Regions from separate parts of the Homo sapiens genome. Here regions 2, 3 and 4 are each linked to region 1. The links are contacts of gene promoters, found by promoter capture Hi-C in blood cells and fetal thymus (Javierre and others, 2016). All regions are on one chromosome and are shown on one strand. Each heading gives the region's core, a stretch centred on a gene start or on the middle of the fragment in contact. The rest is flanking DNA. Distances are from core to core; before and after follow the strand shown.

Region 1 (2,731 bases), core at 169-2,668:
TGGGCCGAGGCGCGCTCCCCCGCGGCCCGCCGGGTCCCAGCCACTGAGCATGCCCAGCGCCTCGACTGCTGAGTGCCCAGCCAGCATCCTGCAGTGCCTGGGAGCCTGAGGCCGAGGAGGGTCCCGGCGTAGTAAAGGGGCGGCAACCCCAAACGGGCCAGGCATCAAAATGAGACAGCATTAAACCGAGTGACATCTCTGTGGGTCCTTAGTGCCAGGCGAGCAAGCAGGGACAAACTGCTTGTTTATAGGTCGGCTTAAAAAATAAAAAAACTCTGGGGAGCGTTTGTTTGTGGGGAGACTGATACCGCAAGGTGACCCTGAAAGGGGCGCTTCAAGTAGACCCAGGCTGCTGATCTGGTCCACTCATGAAGTAACCATTTTCCTGTACAGTTGAGCTGGCACCATCCTTGTTTTCTCCCTGTTATCCTTGTGGTCAAGGTTAAAAACTTATAGGGTGGTTCAATGGGTGTGGGAGCTGTGTGTGAAACAAACATTTCAGCCAATATTTGCACAGTAGGGTTTTGGCCTTATGAACCCTCTGAAGGTCCCTAACAGCTTTTTAAAGTCACGGATAGACTTCGGAATATGATAAGGGACCTCTCATTTCCCCTCCCCCATGCCCTCAGCCTTAGGTGTGAGTCCCCCCGTCACACGGATGGGCAAGGGGAGCAGGAGAAAAGGTGATATTTACATTTTCTCCCTACTTGATCAGCAACTAATTCCACAGCGCCGGACGTGAGACACTTCCTGGGGATCCCTGTTCTCCTTTTGTAGTGACCATAACTGCCCCCAGTCACTGCCCTTGGGCGTCCCTCTGTTCCTTCCAGGTACCTCACGGCAGCAAATCTGGGGATCCCAAGGTGGAAGGCTGGCCCAGAAGTCCTTTAGAAAAACCTTAAAAAATACAGATCCCCTCACCATGGCCTATCGCCCTGAAGCCGAAATCTAGCTTTTAAATTTCCTGGGGGAAACAGCCTTGACTAGAAACCTCCCTCCCGTGGGTCAGTCTTACCTGATAGGTAAGAGGCAGCCCAGCTCCGGCGCCCCCGCCTCCCCCCGGCCTCCCACTCGGGGCTCTGTAGCCGCAGTGCCCCCCCGTGGCCCCCCACCCTCACTCCTGCGTCTTCCCGAGCTCGCCCCCTCCCGTTTTCCCAGACTCCCCTCGTGCTTTCGGGTAGCCACCCAAACACCCCCGCCTGCGCCCGCCGCGGGGATTCCTGCGGGCCGGGGGCGCCCCGGTTGGCGCGCGTGTAGGGAGGCGCTGCGCCGGAGCTGGCGGCCGCGCAGGGGCGCTGTCCTAGCGCTGCGCCGGGGTCGGCGCGGGCGCCGCTGCAGCACGGCTGGGGGGCGGAGAGGGGCGGGCGCGGGGCGGGCTCGGCCCGGAATGTAGAGACCCGGGCGGGAGCCTCCCGGCGGCGGCTGCCCGGCTGCCGAGCGCGGAGGCTCCGTCACGTGTTTTTCTCCTCCGAGTGAGACGGCGGCGCGGTCGGAGGGGGCCGGCGCGCAGAGCCAGACGCCGCCGCTTGTTTTGGTTGGGGCTCTCGGCAACTCTCCGAGGAGGAGGAGGAGGAGGGAGGAGGGGAGAAGTAACTGCAGCGGCAGCGCCTCCCGAGGAACAGGCGTCTTCCCCGAACCCTTCCCAAACCTCCCCCATCCCCTCTCGCCCTTGTCCCCTCCCCTCCTCCCCAGCCGCCTGGAGCGAGGGGCAGGGATGAGTCTGTCCCTCCGGCCGGTCCCCAGCTGCAGTGGCTGCCCGGTATCGTTTCGCATGGAAAAGCCACTTTCTCCACCCGCCGAGATGGGCCCGGATGGGGGCTGCAGAGGACGCGCCCGCGGGCGGCGGCAGCAGCAGCAGCAGCAGCAGCAGCAACAGCAACAGCCGCAGCGCCGCGGTCTCTGCGACTGAGCTGGTATTTGGGCGGCTGGTGGCGGCTGGGACGGTTGGGGGGTGGGAGGAGGCGAAGGAGGAGGGAGAACCCCGTGCAACGTTGGGACTTGGCAACCCGCCTCCCCCTGCCCAAGGATATTTAATTTGCCTCGGGAATCGCTGCTTCCAGAGGGGAACTCAGGAGGGAAGGCGCGCGCGCGCGCGCGCTCCTGGAGGGGCACCGCAGGGACCCCCGACTGTCGCCTCCCTGTGCCGGACTCCAGCCGGGGCGACGAGAGATGCATCTTCGCTCCTTCCTGGTGGCGGCGGCGGCTGAGAGGAGACTTGGCTCTCGGAGGATCGGGGCTGCCCTCACCCCGGACGCACTGCCTCCCCGCCGGGCGTGAAGCGCCCGAAAACTCCGGTCGGGCTCTCTCCTGGGCTCAGCAGCTGCGTCCTCCTTCAGCTGCCCCTCCCCGGCGCGGGGGGCGGCGTGGATTTCAGAGTCGGGGTTTCTGCTGCCTCCAGCCCTGTTTGCATGTGCCGGGCCGCGGCGAGGAGCCTCCGCCCCCCACCCGGTTGTTTTTCGGAGCCTCCCTCTGCTCAGCGTTGGTGGTGGCGGTGGCAGCATGGCGAGCCCTCCGGAGAGCGATGGCTTCTCGGACGTGCGCAAGGTGGGCTACCTGCGCAAACCCAAGAGCATGCACAAACGCTTCTTCGTACTGCGCGCGGCCAGCGAGGCTGGGGGCCCGGCGCGCCTCGAGTACTACGAGAACGAGAAGAAGTGGCGGCACAAGTCGAGCGCCCCCAAACGCTCGATCCCCCTTGAGAGCTGCTTCAACATCAACAAGCGGGCTGACT
Region 2 (2,731 bases), core at 93-2,592, 1.8 Mb after region 1:
CAAACAGCATCTCTGGCTAATTGAATCCTGGCTAACAAAGAGCTGACTAAAGTGCATTTATCAATTGCTTAAGAATTCTTTATACCCAAATGTGACCTTGTGTTATAACTATCTATCATTGGCTTTAGAAAGTGGCAGGGTCATGGATCCATAAAAAGCTGTTAAGAAAAAACCAGACCACTTGGAAAGGCTGTCCCAGATCTCTCCAGACCAGTATCCAGGGGCCAGAACTTCTCTGCCCCCCATCCAGTCCAACACTGAATTGCAGAACCACCCTGGGTATGACCCAGGAAGAGACTTCTTAGAAGGCTTTCATCAGATACCTATCTAGAGGCAAAGTGCAGGCTAGATGGGTATGGGCAAGAGAAGAGCAGAGACAGCATAACTGTGAAATCCACCCCCGACCTGACCACCCTACATAGTAACCCTGCCAGTTGGTTCTTGCCTACTCATCCTAATGCCACCCAAAGTCTCTTACCCCCAGAACGCTGATTTATTGGTTTTGAGTTCGTGTTAGTAGCTTAAACTGTCTCCTTGATTTCTCTGTATTTGTTTATTTGTTCGCTTGGTTACTTGCTGTCTCCCACCCCTACCCCGAAAAAACCTATCAGCTCTACACAGCCTTAAAGTGTAGTTGCTAAGTTCCTCTCCGTATCCTCAGTTTCCAGAACAGTGTGAGCTGGCATATAGTAGGCGCTTAATAAATACTCATTGAAGGAGTGAATGAATGGGGAAGCTTATTCCAAGGCCCTGAACATGGACTTCTGGCAAGGGAGCCTTCCAAACGCTGGCTTGGGCGATGCTGCTGGGATCCCAGCCACCAGATCTTTAATAAGCCTCTGACCCCTTCCCGAGGGTGGAAGGGCGAACCGAGCTTGGCCCCCACCCACTAGCCGGACCCAGAAAATAGAAGTCTAAACGGCAAATGCATCCAGGGCTCCAACTCTCCCAGCAACCTCCAAATGAGGCTGACGGCCTTGGACAGGCGACGGCCTTGGACAGGCCCCGCCCGGAGCCCCTCGGCGGCCGCCCCCCGCCCTCCCCCGCAGCCTGCAGTTCCCCCGGGCGGCGTGGACAGCCCCGGCCGGCCAGCTGAGCCCGTGTGGGCGGCGCGGGCAGGAGCCGCCCCACACGCGTCCCGCGACGCCCGCTCCAGATGCGCCGCTGCAGGGCCCGGCCGCCAGCCGAGTTGGCCGCGCGCGCCCGGGGGAGCGCAGAGTTTGGAAAGTCTTCGAGAAGCTTCAGAGGAGGGAAGGGGGTGGGAAGAGTGGGGGTGCAAGAGAGAAAAACCCGCCTCTTGCGAGTTGAGCGAGGAAGAGGGGGGGGAAGGCTCCGAGTTCCGCTTCCTGAACGGCGGGTGGATAGAGAAGGTTGGCGCGGGGAAGACCGGCGGGAGGCGCGCCCCGGGCCCGCGGCGCGATTGGCGTGACCGGCGATGGCCGGTGAGCGGACCCGCAGGTTCACCCGGAGCCTGTTGAGACCTGGGCAGGCGGCCGAGCTCCGGCACAGCGCCGCGTCCGCCGCCGCGGTGGCAGTCAGCAGCCGGCAGCAGCAGCGGGTGAGTGCGGCGCGTCCTCCGCGCCTTCCCGCGCGCCCCAGGCGCCCGGGGGGAACGGAGCCCAGCTTCCCCAAAAGCTCGGCGGGCCCAGGTCCCCGCAGCTCACGGGTCCTCTCCTCCGCACTCCCTCCCCCGCCGCCTCTGCGGGCTCCCCCGGCGCCACCTCAGCGAGGCAGCGCCACCGACGCGTAAGGACCGGGGGCGCGTTTGTGCACGCGGGACGCTCAGAGGAGCAGCTGCGTGGGTAGCAGAAGCGCAGCGTGGGAGAGGATGTGCAGGGGCTTTAATGGGGCGCGAGGGGGCCGGAATGCACCGCCAGTCACACTGGTGCTAAGTGATACGAGTGCCAGAGACCCCGGGTGGGGTGGGGGGATCTACAGAACAGAACCCCTGAGTCCGGAGGTCTGCGCGTCCCTCTCACCCTCCAGTAAACAGACCAGTGCGCTGAGAGAGAGGGATGCAGTCCGTGGTCCTCGCCCTGGTTAGAGCTGGGGCCCCCCGACGTTAACTATCGCAGAAATAGATGTACTTGGAACAGCCCTCCCACCGCAGGGTAAAAACCCACAAACCACTTAATACTCCTCCAGAAAGGGCTGAGGAACACAGGCTGGAGGAGACGTGGGTCATTAGGTCTCCAGCGGTTTCTGATATTTTTCTAAGATGTTTCGCGGGGTTCTCCCACCAGCAATGCTTTACTGGTTACTTCCTTATTGAAACGGCTTCTAAGTGCTGGGTGATTTCCGCGGGAAGTCCCTGGGGCAGCAGCCAGCATCTGATGCTAGGATCCTATCCATACCAACCCAGATGTTCCTGCGTTGCAGTAGGTCCACACTGCCGGGGAGAGGTGGCAAGAGACAAATCAACTCTAGTGGAAACGGGAAGCGAGTGGGAACAACAGCCTCACAGCAAGACCGGGGCTCAGCAGCCGCGCTCTTGGCCTGCGTTTGGTGGACCGGAATCCGGGTTGTGTGTTTCATTTTCTTTTTTGCCAGAAAATATCATTAGGAACTAAACGGCTCTTTTTAAGAGTGTGAAAGTGTTACTCTTGCCAGTCACCAATGAGGAGGGCGCCAAAAGCTTCCCAGAGCCAGTTCCCACAGCCAGGACTATTCTCTAAAGCCAGAGGTCGGAAAGTTGAACAGAACGGAAGCAAATTGCCTGGCAGAGGGAAGA
Region 3 (2,731 bases), core at 129-2,628, 1.1 Mb after region 1:
GTCCTCTAATTCCTAGCTCAGGACTGTAGACATGAGCATTCACTTTTTAAATAAAATTTTAGGTGTTTGTTGAGTTAATCTAATGAATAAGTTTGTGTTCCAACAGGAGACTGTCAAAGTGGCTCAGAAATTTTTCAAAAGACTTACAATATTTCATAACATGATAATCTGTGCAATAAAAATGCAGTAACTCTATTTTGGTGAAAATGCAAGAAAAATTTATTGAGTAACTACAAACTGTCATAATGAAATTTATAACACAGAATTCCCAGAGGACAGGCTTCAAATCTCACTCATCTTGGTGGTCCCAACATGTAGAACAGAGTCCTAGGCTTTCAATAGAAGTTTTATGACTTAAATAGAAGCCAACATCATAGAACAGTTTTTGTTGTCTCTCAAAAAAATAAAATAAAATCCAGATAATCTTCTTAGTAAAATACTATGGGTTCTATACATTTCAACATCATTGCAAAACCTCCAAACTTCTTTAAGTCCCAATATTTCTTACAGCATCACTTCTATGATTTTATTTTATTTAGTTGTCTACACAAACATTAAGTCATGTGTTACTTAATTCCCTTTAATATATTTTGGCATAAATTGGTATGTGCAACTGAAAAATAATTTTTCTGGATTCCCTTGACAACAGGGTCACCTATATATTTCACAGTTGCATAACATTTCATATATGTATATACAGTGTACTGTATTATCCATAAAATATGTATTTTGTGTCAAGCAGAAATGCTATAGAGGTGTGTAAATTTATTAAGAATATATTTCTTAAACTCTAAAGAATAGAAGAATAAGAATAAAAATTATAAAGCTTGGAATTTTATTCTTTAGATTTTTATTTTGCATTAAATAGTTATATGTCCACTTGATTGATAGAATGGTCTGAATTGCTAGAAAAAGAAAATAACTTTTTTTTTCAGACTTACTCCATAATATTTAACTCATGTTTTGGAGACATGTGTAGTGAGTAAGAAAATATTGCCCAATATATAAACTTCCATGAAAAAAGCATTGCCCAATACATGAAAGATGGCTAGGTATCAGACAATAATTCAAACTCAGGTTGCTGGAAGATTGTCCATTCAAAATATAAATATATATTTGAAAATATCTCAACAAATATATAGATTCTAGTATATAATCTTCTTATTTTATATCTGCTATCAATTTGTTTCCATTTAAACTCCCCCAAAATATTTCTGTTAAGATGTGATAAATAAACATAGAATATAATTATATTGTGGGAAGATATATCTGCTTCCCACATTTATTTTTAAATAGCACATGTTTGGGTGCATAGTCATTTTAATTCTCAAAATCGAACTCCAATGTTGCTACTGTGGCCATTTCCATCGTTGAGTCCCCCAAAAATATATCTAAATATTATTTTTTGTTGATAGTAAGATGTCATGCTTTCATTCATTGTTTTGGATATAATAAATAGCATGTTTAGCAAGTATGTGAAGTATGTTAAAAATACTACCCATAAAAAATTGCATCGCTTTTCTATTTTCTTTTCTTTTATCACAAAATTCTTCATATTCTTAAAAGAAAAAAAAAAGATGTGTAAAATCCCATTCCACCTCTCCCTGGAATTGAAAGAACTCTGGGAATTGACTATTAAAACGAATTTGAAGCCAAGCCCAGTAAATAAACTCTTCTAGTTTAGTTATTTAATTCAATGGCCTTATTTCTTATCTTTAATCCAAAGGCATTTATTATACTGTTTATCCCATGAAGAAAAGAAAAAATGTATACGTAAGTAGGTAAGTACACATCAAAAGTTAACTGTAGGACAGTTGTTCAATTCATATGAACACACACCTCTAGGACAAGATTTTTATACCAGCATGATTCAGCAGAAGCAACATCCTTGGATAATAAGTCCATGGAAATAAAATCAAGTGAAGCTTCCTGTCTAGGAGGTGAAATTTCAATCTCCACCCCTTTTTTGTGGGCTACACACAGTGACTTCTTCCTAAAAAGTACAGTGTGGAAAGCTAGGAGGAAAGTAACTATACATTGGAGGAACCTGGTGTTATGGTCTGAACGTTTGTGCCCCCTTAAAATTCTTATGTTGGGATCCTGACCTTCGAGGTGATGGTACTAAGAGGTGGGACCTCCTCAAGGTGATTGGGAGGTGCATGGGACTAGTACTCTTATAAAATAATCCCAAGAGAGCTCTTCCACCCCTTCAGCCAGGCTGCCGATACAGCAAGTAGTCAACAGTCTGCAACCAGGAAGAGTGTCTTTACCAGATCATAACCATGCTGTCACCCTGGTCTTGGACTTCTCAGTTTCCAGAACGGTGAAAAATAACTTTTTGTTGTTTATAAGCTACCCAGTGTATAGTATTCTGTTCTGGCACCCCAAACGGACAAGAAACCTGGCAAACATCACCCCCAACAGGCGATCAACCGTAGTAAACTATACTGGCAGTATGTATCCTTGGTATAATGTGATGAGACCAGAGACACTTTTACCTCTGCCATCTTCCTCCTCAAAACCCATAACTCCACTCTAATCATGAGAAACCACTAGAGAAACCCAAATTGAGAGACAGTTTACAAAATACCATACCAGTACTCCTCAAAGCTCCAAAGGTCATCCAAAATAAGGAAAGTCTGAGAAACTGTCACATCCTAGAGAAGGGTAAGGAAACCCAATGACTAAGTGTAATTAATTTACATGCTATCCTGAAAGGGACTCTGGAGCA
Region 4 (2,731 bases), core at 60-2,559, 1.1 Mb after region 1:
CACTTCAGAGCTTTAGTTATATGTCAGCTAGCCCCTTCACTCTTTGAGGTGTGGAGTGGGGCGGTGAAGTTTAGAAAGGGAGGGCTGAGTGGGAAAAAAAAAAGATGGGGGAGTTCCTCAAACCACAGGATGTAGAATCTTTTAGAACATGGAGAAGGGACATTTTCTAAAGTTCTATGTTCAATGCCAGGAATTTAAATTGCATCCTGCTATAATTGAAAATGTGTATGTCTAACCTAGGGTTTCTTAACCTCAGCGCTATTGACATTGGAGGTGGATAACTCTGTTGTGGAGCCTGACTTGTGTGTTATAGAATGTTTAGTAACATCTCTGGCCTCTTCCTCCAGATGCCAGTTGTCCTGTCCTCCATTAAGACAACCAAAATGTCTCAAGACATTGCCAGAGGTCCCCTGGGGGACAAAATCATACCCTGTGGAGAACCATTGGGCTAACTGGCCTGGATCTGCCACATGGGTGACCCTTCACATGTGAGGCAGTACCCAGCCTCCATCCGGCCCACCTTCCACCCTCAGGGAGTACCTGCTGCCCACTCCACCACTGCTGGTTGAGTCTTCCCTGCTGTTGGGCTCCAGCTGGCATCTTCTTCATGCAGCTAGTGCAGGCGAAACTTCTCAATAAAAGTTGGAGGTGGTGAAAATTGTTGCTGTGCCTCAGCACAAAACAAGAAGCAAATTGTGAATATTTGATATCAAAATGAATTAACTATATTGACCAATTCCATTGCAGAGAAATTCTCATGAACCATCTTTTTCCTCAATCTCTGATATCCTATCTTGGTCTAGGTTTCTTCCTTTCCCCCAAGAGTCCTTCTCTGGCTCACTCTTCTCCTCATACCAGTTTATGAGTTACTCCTGACTTTCCTTGCTACCACTACATAACTATACAGACCAATTTCACTCTGCGAGTATGTGTATGTATGTATGTATGTATGTACATGTGTACCTATCTATTTATCTATCCATCATGCAAAGATAGGTCCCAAACTTCAGGACCTATCTTTGCATGGTAGATAGATAAATAGGTAGGTATACATGTACATACATACATACACATATTCACTTATATATAAAGCACACATATATATGCATGTATATATATTAGCATACATTTGCATAGAGGAATATATGTATAAACACGCTAGTGTAGAAACAAAAACCATATTTGCTAAACCAAAGGGTTTAAATTGTTTGATGATCAATATACCCTTGATCTTCATACCTAATAAAATAAGCAGAGTATTTTCTCAAAGTGTCTCAGGCAAATGTTTGTGTAGACCCCCATCCCCCACCAAGCCAAGGAAACCTCAGGGATCAAAGAACAAATGGTAATTGTTCTGATTGTGTAGTAGAGCAGGTAGGTTTTATCCCGTTCTATGCTGAACACAGACCCTCACTCCATCCAGGCTAAGGCAATAGCAAACATTTCTTCTATGATGCAGTGCAAAGCAAGGCAGGGAAACACCTAACAAGAGACAGGCACTATGCAAACAAGAGGTTAATCTTCACTATGTAAAGATCTGATTGCCATTAAGACCCCTTGCATCAAAGTCATGCTATAAGGTCACAGTGAGTTCTTGCCCCCTTTTCCTTTTTCATATCAAGATCTAAAGCATCCCTTCCTCCCGTGGAGTGGCAGCTCTGGTTCAGACTAGGGAGGTGCCTAACACAAGATACCCATTAAAAAGAGGCAGGACCTCACAGAGGAGAGAGGCCGGGGGAAGGGTTAAGACCCTGCAAAGAGATGCTCCCCGACAACCACAGGGTATCTGACACTGGCTTCTCTACAGTCATATGCTCAGACCACAGGCCTAGGAACAGAATTCAGGGAGAAGTAATAGAATAGGCAGACCTTGTCAAGTTGAAATTTGTTGCCTGAACTTAAAATAAAGTCCTGATTAATCACTCTGCAAATTTTACTGGCAGCACCATCTTATTGAGCAATATGAAACCCCTCCCTTCCATAATTAGGGAATCACATCAACAAGTTTATATTACACTTAGAATATCCCGGGCATTCTCTTGTGCCATCTTGGAATATCTAACAACTAGGGTATTTTGGGAGGTCCCAGCACCATAATTGACTAACTAAAATGAGAATTAAGGGATTTGAATCATTGTAGGCATTTTAAACTACACCTATGACAAACCCAGGATGTAACACTCCTTCTAGATGGGTTTAATGGTGTTGGCTTGGGTTTTATTGTATCTCATATATTTCATTTGAAATCACATATGATCTGATGGAAAGAACTTTCCCCTGCACAAAATAATAGAAAGCATTCCTAAAGGGATGTGTTTTAGTCAAGGGAGAAAGGATTATGCCAAGGGATGTGAGTTAGTTCATGCAGCTTTGCACATCACTCTCATAGTCATGCCTGTGTCATATGGTTATTTTATCTTCTCATTAGCACATTTAATACGCTTAGATTCTATGGTTTAGAACTTTGAAATCTCAAATGTTTCCTTATGGGTACTGGAAAGGAATCCAAATTATATTTAGGAGAATATCACAAGTAGGATTTATGGCAAATTCACAGTTCAATCAAGAAATTTATACACATACACTCATACATATATATACATATATGGACATATATATCTATAACATATATACATATTTACTATATATGGTATATGATAGTTGAACCTTCACTCTTATGGACATAACATAAGCCATTGTCTAGATTACTAAGTCAGGAGAAAGACACCAA

Evidence for each region. Contacts are between HindIII fragments. The CHiCAGO score rates a contact against its expected background, and 5 or more counts as called.
Region 2: a contact is called between the fragment with the promoter of DOCK10 here and the fragment with the promoter of IRS1 in region 1, in 2 of 17 cell types (naive CD8 T cells and activated CD4 T cells). The highest score is 5.9, in naive CD8 T cells.
Region 3: a fragment that was not itself captured here is called in contact with the fragment with the promoter of IRS1 in region 1 in 5 of 17 cell types (M0 macrophages, M2 macrophages, total CD4 T cells and 2 more); the score reaches 6.3 in M0 macrophages.
Region 4: a contact is called between a fragment that was not itself captured here and the fragment with the promoter of IRS1 in region 1, in 1 of 17 cell types (M1 macrophages). The highest score is 5.3, in M1 macrophages.

The regions. Positions count from the first base shown.
Region 1 is chr2:226,798,507-226,801,237 of GRCh38, reverse strand. IRS1 (insulin receptor substrate 1) reads left to right here and starts at 1,418. Exons shown (of 2, transcript NM_005544.3): 1 at 1,418-2,731. The coding sequence starts at 2,500. It also overlaps a transcript of RHBDD1 not described here. RefSeq lists silencers at 1-89, 1,050-1,119, 1,140-1,559, 2,550-2,599. The HindIII fragment of the contact is 8,747 bases long and covers 1-2,731 here.
Region 2 is chr2:225,041,079-225,043,809 of GRCh38, reverse strand. DOCK10 (dedicator of cytokinesis 10) reads left to right here and starts at 1,342. Exons shown (of 56, transcript NM_014689.3): 1 at 1,342-1,558. The coding sequence starts at 1,436. RefSeq lists silencers at 946-1,315, 1,506-1,745 and an enhancer at 2,296-2,635. The HindIII fragment of the contact is 1,396 bases long and covers 1,242-2,637 here.
Region 3 is chr2:225,693,147-225,695,877 of GRCh38, reverse strand. The region is part of intron 7 of NYAP2 (neuronal tyrosine-phosphorylated phosphoinositide-3-kinase adaptor 2); the gene reads right to left. All of the region lies in intron 5 of LOC105373914 (a long non-coding RNA gene), which reads left to right. Among named protein-coding and RNA genes, the nearest start is that of NYAP2, 290 kb to the right of the region's middle. The HindIII fragment of the contact is 1,099 bases long and covers 829-1,927 here.
Region 4 is chr2:225,732,699-225,735,429 of GRCh38, reverse strand. The region is part of intron 4 of LOC105373914 (a long non-coding RNA gene); the gene reads left to right. Among named protein-coding and RNA genes, the nearest start is that of NYAP2, 330 kb to the right of the region's middle. The HindIII fragment of the contact is 3,361 bases long and covers 1-2,731 here.